Linked DNA regions of Homo sapiens: region 1 is linked to region 2. Evidence: promoter capture Hi-C in 16 types of primary human blood cells and fetal thymus (Javierre and others, 2016). All regions are on one chromosome and are shown on one strand. The core of a region is centred on a gene start or on the middle of the fragment in contact, and the rest is flanking DNA. Distances in the headings are between cores, read along the strand shown. Region 1 holds the start of MGMT (O-6-methylguanine-DNA methyltransferase). Region 2 holds the start of IKZF5 (IKAROS family zinc finger 5).

The links. Contacts are between HindIII fragments. The CHiCAGO score rates a contact against its expected background, and 5 or more counts as called.
Region 1: a fragment that was not itself captured here is called in contact with the fragment with the promoter of IKZF5 in region 2 in 1 of 17 cell types (monocytes); the score reaches 7.2 in monocytes.

What each region holds. Positions count from the first base shown.
Region 1 is chr10:129,465,191-129,469,823 of GRCh38, reverse strand. MGMT (O-6-methylguanine-DNA methyltransferase) reads right to left here and starts at 2,583. Exons shown (of 5, transcript NM_002412.5): 1 at 2,528-2,583. RefSeq lists silencers at 2,284-2,483, 2,504-2,943 and an enhancer at 1,795-2,717. The HindIII fragment of the contact is 635 bases long and covers 1,539-2,173 here.
Region 2 is chr10:123,006,989-123,011,619 of GRCh38, reverse strand. It overlaps IKZF5 (IKAROS family zinc finger 5), which reads left to right and starts at 2,825. Exons shown (of 5, transcript NM_001372123.1): 1 at 2,825-2,926; 2 at 4,444-4,594. ACADSB (acyl-CoA dehydrogenase short/branched chain) reads right to left here and starts at 2,614. Exons shown (of 11, transcript NM_001609.4): 1 at 2,549-2,614. The coding sequence starts at 2,590. RefSeq lists enhancers at 2,709-3,038, 3,319-3,548. The HindIII fragment of the contact is 4,856 bases long and covers 1-4,108 here.

The sequences.
Region 1 (4,633 bases), core at 607-3,106, 6.5 Mb before region 2:
AAAGCAGGAGGTTCGCTTGAGCCCAGGAGCTTGAGGCTGCAGGGAGCTATGATCTCACCACTGCACTCCAGCCTGGGCGAAAGACCAAGACCTTGTCTCTAAAAATAATAAAATAATATTCTGCGGTAAGACCCCAGCTCTTTCAGAAAGTAGCTGCATTAAAAACTACTTGTCCCAGGAAACAGAGGGTCAGGAAGGACCGTAGCAACAGCCCAAGAGCCGAATGAGCACAGGGCCCTGCAGGGTCTGGGAGGCTCAATGTGTCCCCTGGAGGGACTAGAGTCCCAAACGGAAGTCAAAAATCTCAGGGCAAGTGGATCTGGACATGGAACTTTATGCTGGGGAAGGGGGTCAGAATGAAGTGCAGAAACAAGAATAATGCTAAAGGAAAAGATAATGCAGAAAATTCAGTTTTGCCTCCATTTTTTTTCTATCAAAGAGAATATACTGAAAAGAGCATTAGCACCAAAAAGAAAAATGGAAGGTCTGAATCACTGGCTCCTAAATGTGTGTCCTCTGCAAAACAGAACAGACAATTTAGTAACTTTATTTTATTATAAAATACTGAAAGAGTCAGGGTTTTGGTGTCCTAAGAAAGGGTGGGAAGAGGACTGGAGAGGAACAAACTCTGAGGGGGCAATGGGGAAGGCAAGTTCTTTTTCAGGCCCTTCCTACCCCCTTCTTCCCTGCAAAAGGACAGAGGAGGCCCTGATTGAGACACCTGGGGAGGAAACCCAAACAACGAAAAGTAAGGCCCAGGTGATATCAAAGTAAGACCTCAACAAGGTTCAAGAATCTGAGCAGCTGAACAAGGTGCTACCCAATGTATACCTAGGGCTCTATTTCTTTCAACCTTACTAACAGCAAAGCCTTTTTAAAGTAGTGCCTAATACTATTAGTTAAATCCTTATTTTGATACAGATTTTTTTGTTTCCCCTTCAGGACAGTTTCACTCTCGTCGCCCAGGTTGGAGTGCAATGGCGCAATCTCGGCTCACTGCAACCTCCGCCTCCCAGGTTCAAGCAATTCTCCTGCCTCAGTCTCCCAAGTAACTGGGATTACCAGCATGCACCACCACGCCTGGATAATTTTTGTGTTTTTAGTAGAAACTGGGTTTCACCATGTTGGCCAGGCTGGTCTCAAACTCCTGACTTCAGGTGATCCACCCACCTCGGCCTCCCAAAGTGCTGAGATTACAGGCGTGACCCACTGTGCCTGGCCCAGATTTTTTTTTTTTAATGAAGATATATACATTGAAAAGTACCTGAGTATAGCTCCGTACTGGTGGTCTACTTCATCCAGGCCCCTGACTGTGGCAGACACTACTCCACTATTCAAATTCCAACCCGAGACAGAGGGCCCAGGAAGAAAGACACGCGGCAGAGCAAGGCCAGCTCTCCTCTGCTACTTGCAGGCAGACTCCGGGTCTGGGCAAGTATCCTGGCCCTCTGAGTTAACGTGATATTAACAATCAGCCAGGCTCTTGACGCGGTTTCCTTCAAAGTTTTCACACCCCCACCCACCAGGTGCGCTAAGCTTTGGGTTTTTAAAATCTTGTTCATCTCCCAGAGTGTTTTAGCCATTGAGAGGGCCCTGAAAATAACAAAACCATCTCCTAGACACCTGCCCAGGGATGGGGGAGATGACGGGAGAGCCTGACTTAACAGATACTCTATAGGTTTCTATTTGGATGTCTATGTAAATAACCAGTCTAATTCTCAGCTCTCTGTGCTTAACATTCTACTGAGAACAGCTCTCTGGACCAAGCCGCTTCCCTGTCTGATGATGATCTCAGCAGGCATAGGTTGCACACACATGTACAAAGTCTGCTTTCCAGGACAGAAAGCCAGCTACTCAGCTGAAGCAACTGAGAGCAAACACCACCCTGAGATTTCAGGAGATGATGAACCCAGGAGTGCGAAATACATAGTTCAGAACTCCTCTGCGGTGTTATAACCGACATTACGGTGCCCAGTGTGTGTGGCTCTCCAGCGAGCCTTGCTTACTCTAAGTGTTGATGAATACAGTTAGGGTATGATGTACACAAACACCAGCCATAGTAACCAGAAGGCCCCTAGAACTTGGCCTCCAGCAGGAAGGAAATATGGGACTCTGCCTAAGTATGCTAAAGGGTTGCTGCAAGCCAAGGCCCGCGCAGGGGCTTCTGGAAGCTTCCTGGAGCAGCTGGCGGAGGGAAAGCTGGCAGCATGGAAGGGTAGGAAGAACCCGGGGCCCGGGCCTGGGGCTGGCACCTAGAGGTAAGGCAGGGGCTGCCACGACCCCCGCCACACGCCAGTCCACAGTCACTGCAGCGCAGCCTAGTCCAGGAACCCCAGGCCCGGGGAAAGGCTGGGCAACACCTGGGAGGCACTTGGGGCGCACCTGGAGCTCGCCCGGGATGGGTGGGGGTCAGGGCGGCCCCACACCCGACGGCGAAGTGAGGGCGCCTGCAGGACCACTCGAGGCTGCCACCGTCCCGAGGGAGAGCTCCGCACTCTTCCGGGAGCGAGGCGACCCAGACACTCACCAAGTCGCAAACGGTGCGCACCGCGAGGACCTGCGGGCGTCGGGACGCAAAGCGTTCTAGGGGCGCGGGCTGTCCCAGCATATCCGGGGCGCGGGGGCGGGGCCGAGGGGCACGGGGATGGCGGCGTGGGGCGGGGTCTAGAGCGGGGCGGAGCCGAGGACCTGAGAAAAGCAAGAGAGCGCGCGGGGGCGGGGCCGGGGCGCGCGGGGGCGGAGCTGGGGCGGAGCCCGGGAGGGGCGGGGTGTTCCCGCCCGACCGGGTCGGCGCATGCCCTGTGCGGCGGCGCCGGGCCTGAGGCAGTCTGCGCATCCTCGCTGGACGCCGGCACGCCGGCCCTGGTCCTCCGGCAGCGCCGCTGCCCTGTGCGCCTGACCCGGATGGCCCTTCGGCCGGTACAAGCCGGGCGGCGCCTTCCCAGCTTCCGCCTGAGGCTCTGTGCCTTAGTTTGCCAAATGGCCCGTACCTTTTCCTGTCACAGGGATAGTCCGCGGGCGTGCAAGCGACCTGCCACGTGCCCGAGTGGTCCTGAAAGCGCGCGGGGGTCGTAGGACGGCGCCCGCTTAGTGAGAATCCCGGTCCTGCTCGGGGCGGCTACGCTGAGCCCGGAGCGCGAGTCTCTCCCCTCCTGGTGCCGCTCCCCTAGTCAGGGACCCCCAGACCAGCAGAGACCCTGTCAGGGGGCCGTGGGGGCAGCCTCCAGGGCCTGTGGTGGGCGATGCCGTCCAGGGGCTGCAGTCACCGATGGCCTAGACACTGCCAGAGCCTGACTCAGCCGCTCTCCAGAGAGCACACAGGGTGCCAGGCCCTGCTTGGGGTTGTGTGGACGTTATTAGGAGTTGAATTGTGTCCACCAGAGAAGCTATGTTGGAGTCCTAACTCCCAGTACCTCACAATGTGACCTTATTTGGAGATGGGGACTTTACAGAAGCCATCAATTAGTGGGCCCCTCATCCAGTATGACTCGTGTCCTTATAGGCAGAAGGCCGCTTGGGGAGGAGGATTGGAGGGCTGCACCTGCAAGCCACCAGAAGCCTAAGAGGACAGACCCTTCCCTGGAGCCTTCGGAGGGAGCAGAGGACACTCTTCCCTGGAGCCTTCAGAGGGAGCAGGATCCTAACACACCTGGGTTTCAAACTTCTGGCCCCCGGAAGTGTGAGACAATAGGTTTCTGTTGTTTTAAGCCACTCAGTGTGTGGCACTTTATTATGGCAGCCCCAGGCAATGGGTACAGAAACCATTGTCTCTAACGTGGTTGGCATAAGCACCCCAGGGAGTAGTATCATCCCTGGAGGCTTCGGAGAGGTCACACACCCCTTGGCAGGATCCCATCCAAGGCCCACATGTTCTAAGCCACCATGCTACGGGCCTTCTAGGTTCTGTTTGTTATCTTAATGGAAAGGGGTCTTCACCTTCCCGGTGAAGTTTCCCTGTTGGGATTCGGCCAATGCTCATACCTTCGTATTTGTGACTTGCAGGATCCAACATATTAGCATGAGTGATAAGGGTTGTTCAGAGGAGAACTTCAGCAGGATTTGCTTTGGGATGAGCCCTGGTGACAATACAGGCTGCATCATTGATCCTCTGAGGTTCCCCACCCCGACCCTGCCTTGGATGAGACATGTTTTAAATAGCTGCTTGTGGGAAATAAACTAGGCCCTGAGTACACGATATAATGGTCAAATCAAGGCACTTTTTCCCCACTGAACCTGGACACAGCCTCGGAATCCTTCTCAACACTGTGTTCCAAGCAGCCATTCACATTTAAACTAATGTGGAAGGACAGATGAAACATGTTTGCCCTTGGCTCTGGTTTTTTCCATTAGCCTTCTATAAGACTTCGGGAAACTCGTCTGACTTCTCTAATCCTCAGTTTCATACTCTGTAAAGGAGTCTCATGATAACGTACCCTACGTGTGTACAAACTATCCTTCCATATTAGGGCATGTGTGCATAGGGAAAATAAACCACCAGCACCACACCACACTACTAAGAAATAATGCTATACACCTGGCCACTTACAGCCTGTTACTACCAGGACCCAGTTAGAACCGGGATCTTAATAGAACCAAAGGAAAAACAATGCCGAAATGGAATCAGAGTGCCGAC
Region 2 (4,631 bases), core at 1,576-4,075:
GGGTGGCATAGGTTACAGTGAACTGAGATCGCACCACAGCACTCCAACCTGGGCGACAGAGTAAGACTCCGTCTCAAAAAAAAAAAAAAAAAGATATCAAGCTACATTAAAATGCTTTGGAACCACAGGTTAACTACAAGGTCCAATTCTCCACTAATTGGGTTGCTTAGACCAAATGGGCAGGACAGTTCTAATCCATCTGCAGGACTAGGAGAGACCTTCTGAGAAGGCAGGGGTAGGCTGAAGGTCAGCATTGCAATCTGATTGTTATGTGACTTGGGAACACTGGTTATTGCCTCCGAGTTCCTCATTTGCAAGATGAAGCCACTAATATACCTACTTCAGAGGTTTACAGGAAGAGTAAATAGGGTAGTGGGTGTAAAATGCTGTCCCTGGTCTACAATAAGTGAGTAAATGCTAGCTTTCCATTTGCCTCTGGATAGAAACCAAAATTAGCCCTACCTTGCATTTCTCCCCACTCCATGCCACTTGTGTCCACAGCCATCTACCTACACTGTGGCATGAGGAAACTCCAAAGCTCTTGACCTTCAATGGCTCCTAACAATCCAAAAGGATCAACCCCCAATTCCCTAAAGTGGCCTCAGTCCCCTTTTGTTGCAGTTTTCTGACCACTCCTTTCCCCTCCTAAACTCTAACCCAGCTTCCAAAGAGCCTATCACTTCCCCAATGGTCCTAGTCATTTCTATCTTCTGAATCTGCACGCAGACTGTAGCCCCTTAGGATTTGTTCCACACCTACATGACATGGGGTTAGTTGCACATAGTTCTAACCTTTCCTCTAAAAGATAAACTTCTTGGAGGTAGAGTATTTTATTCATTATTACATCTGGCATAGCACACAATGCTTCGTGCATGGCAGTAAGAGCTGATATTTACCGAGAGCTGACTACATTCCGAGCACTATTCTAAGTGCCTTACATGAACATATGAGCTCATTTAATTTTCACAACAATTTTGGAATACGCACAATTATTCTCTCCATTTACAGACCAGGAAACTGAGACCCAAAGCATAACCTGTCCAAGGTTATACCACTAGGAAGTGAGAGGGCCTGGGTTCAGATCCAAGCAGCCTAGCTACAGAACCTACGTTCTTAACCACTATGCTACAGTCGATGTTCAATCAATTTAGCTAATTTATGTAAAAGAGCTTCAAAAACTATAAAGGACTATAAGCCACAATAAACCAAAAGTTCAAACAAAATAGGTTTTTGATATCTCTAAGGACGGGGAGACAGTAGTATATGAAGGTTAAGTTTAGAATCAGACCAGAGTTCGAATACCACCAGCTCTATCCCTTTCTATCTGTGGGCAAGCTATTATTCTTTTTCAGCATCTGCAAGATTAAACTACTTGTTAAGATGGTTGTGAGAATTGAGATGACTCAGGTAGAACGAGAACGTGCCTACCACAGAGTATGCGGTCAATAAATTTTGGCTCTAAAACAGAGTCAAATTGTAAAACCAAAGAAATTTTCTTTGCTAAGTTATTAACCAACAATTATAAACAGTATTAAACAATAATCACTTACTGTTTTTTATTGCACTTCAGGCCTGTAAAACAGTCAAATAACATTAATTATCTCTAATAAGAAAAAGGGTCAGAGTTCTGCCTCTGGGCATAAGACTGAAGCAGCAGTTGGAAAGCCTAACTCATTAAAGCAAATGCAAAGGAAACATTAAAAGCACACGTAAGCAGTGGGAAAATTCCCAGTGAAGTGTACTGACAAATACAAGTGTATCCAAATGTGTATGTTCTGAAAAGCATGCTATATAATAGGTCCAAGGGGTGAAGAGCATAGGATGTTAACACAGGGGCTGTTAACAGTTTGTGTGGGTGCACAGATAAGAATTAAGCACAACAAGAGGCTGGTTTCAGCTTAAGTTCATGGAAGAGGGACCGGCACCGGCTCCGGCTCCCCTGGGCGGCGGTGAGTCTATCCACGGAAGATACCCAGGCTCCAGACATGAGATAAGGGGCAGAGGGAACTCTGTCCCTGGCCGGGAAGCCCGAACAACTCCGAAGTCCCTTACTACCTTTGAGCGGGGCCGCGGAAGGAAGGACAGGGAGACACCTGCTCAGAATGAGACTGGGCCTATATTTTAACTATCTTTTTTGGGGGAGGGGGTGTGAAATGTAATCACTCGGGAAAGGTGCGTTAGGGCATCAGGGAGGTGACATCTGTGCAAAATGCATCCAGAGATCCAGAGATCCAGACTCGGTGGCTCTCAGGACGCAACGGCCTGCAAAGGACATCTTGCGGACGCGACCCTCCGACTCCACTCAAGGTACTTGCTCCGCCAAAGCAGCTTCTAGACAGCCCCGACCCCCTTGCCACCAGCTGCCTCCACCAGAGGCCTGAAGGGGGTCGGGGTCATAGACTGCCCGCGGGTAAAGAGTCTGGGGACCCAGGACGTGGAGCGGGGCTCAGGCCGGCGCCCCGAGGCCCGTTAGAAGGCTCTGCCAGCTGCGATTCCAGGGGCCAAGGTCGCCCTGGGCCCCCAGGACGCCAGCCTCGAACGCACTCACCAGCCTGCTGCCGCGCAGCAACCGCACTGCCAGGCCCTCCATCCTCGCCGCAGGCCTCTCCGCTCTGCGCCTCTGGGTCTCTAGCCAGCCCCTGGGAGTTACCCGAGCAAGGCCCCGCCCACTCAGTACCCGCCCCGCACACACCCCCCCTTAATCCCTGCCCCCTGCTGCCTACGGAACCCCAAGAGAGACAAACAGGCCCCTCCTCGCTTTCGCCCTCCATCCTGCTCACGCGAGACTTGAGCAAGGCAGGGGGGCGGGAAGGGAGTCGGAGACACAACAAAGATGGCGGCGGCGACTGTGACGGTGACGAAGACGGCGGCGGCGGCGACGGCATTTAACAAGGCGGTGTGGTTTACTCCATGCAGTTGTCAGGAGGTAAGTAGCAGGCTGCCGGCTCGGACGGCGGCGACGCGGCAGGACAGGGCGGATAAGAAGGAGCGGCCGGAGACTGGAGCTGGGTTCGTGGCGGGCCGGCTGATCCGGACGGAGACTCAGTTCAGTGGAGGGTCGGGCGTGGTCGGTAGGCGGGCAGGTGATGGCCCGGGACCTCTTTAGCCGGAGGGCAGTGGACTGCGGCGCCTATGGCCGCGAGAACCCCGAGGGAGCGGGGTCTCCTGCTGTCATTGCCTTCGAGCAGGAGCTCGGAGGCTCCGGGGCGGGGACTGTTGCTTGGCTCTGACAGGTGGTTCTGCGGGAGGCGTCCCGAGGTTTGCGTCTTCACGGGGTCCCAGGGGCTGGGAGTCAGCCGGGCGCGGGTCTCCTAGGTGTTTCGAATCCTGGCGAGGATGTCGCTCCGAATCTTGGTGAGGCTGCTGCCCCGACGCCGGTCCCAGGCTGATTGTTGGGAGAAGGACGTTTAAAGCCTTCGTATTTTATCTAATGATCCTGCCCGGATCCGTCTCTACTGCATGGGCACCCTTATTTTAGGAACATGTGAGATTTGAGAAAGACATTGTAGCAAATAACTATTCAGGTTCATTCGGGGTTTAGATCTTTGGATAAACTGTGTGGAGCGCGAGTAGCCAAGCCTAGCATGCTCGATGACTGGATCTGAAGCTAAACAAGTTCTAGCAAACACTAACCACGTGGCCTGCTTAGAGTCCCCTTGATGTGCTGGTCAGAACCCGAAAGACGTGTGACAAGCGGAAGAAGACATAAAGGCGTCTTAAATTGTGTGATCTGAGGAAATTCAGTTTTGAAAGAACAGAATGTATTTAAAACAACTTTTTTTTAAACGTAGGAACTAACAATTTTAAAAATTCAATTTAATTTTGATTTATGTCGTGTTGTCACAACAGCTAAAGGTTATTATTATTGATGAGAGTTCGTTACAGTGAATTGAAATGTCTGGTGTTATTTTCCCCTAGCGGTCCAGGATGTTTCCCAGAAAACCGTAGCTGTTTTGTGTTATGATAGGATAAGAAGGATGGGATTCAGATGTGCCCTTATCGGGTGTGCATGTTTTTTTTGTTTTTGTATTTAAAGCCCTTTCCCATTTCCCTACTTAGGACTATGCGTTGTTTTTATGCAACTACAGCTGTTCAGCAGTACTAAGCTTGACCGTTTTGGAAGTGTGCTGTGACTAAATGAAGTTAATCTTAATTTCTTTAAACTGAAGTTTAACTTAAATTTAGACATTAAAAATCTTGCCAAAAACTAATCCACCAGTGAGAAAACGGTAGTCACACCAGTTATTCTTTGGTGATCCTATGGAGCTTTTGCTGAAGTGAAGCTACTGCTTTGTTCTTTGATTAATCTGTCAGTTCGTTTTCTTTTCAGCTAATGTAATGATAAGATTGGCATAAGTTACTAGCTCATTCAACCTGTAGATGCTAATTAAGTTTTTATCTTAAAGGTTTTGATTTGTGGTGTGCTGTTTGTTTTTTATGCAGACCTCTGTATGGCTTTTCAATTTTAGTTGAAATTCTCTCTCCATGGCCTTTTGGAGTCCCTTGCTGTATCTCCGAAGTAAATTTCAATTACTCTACATTTCATCAATGTTGGAGTGGCAAGAAAAAGGAGGAACAGATTTGGGGTGAAAAGGTTAGATTGTATAATTTCTCTTCTGGATTTCTTTCAA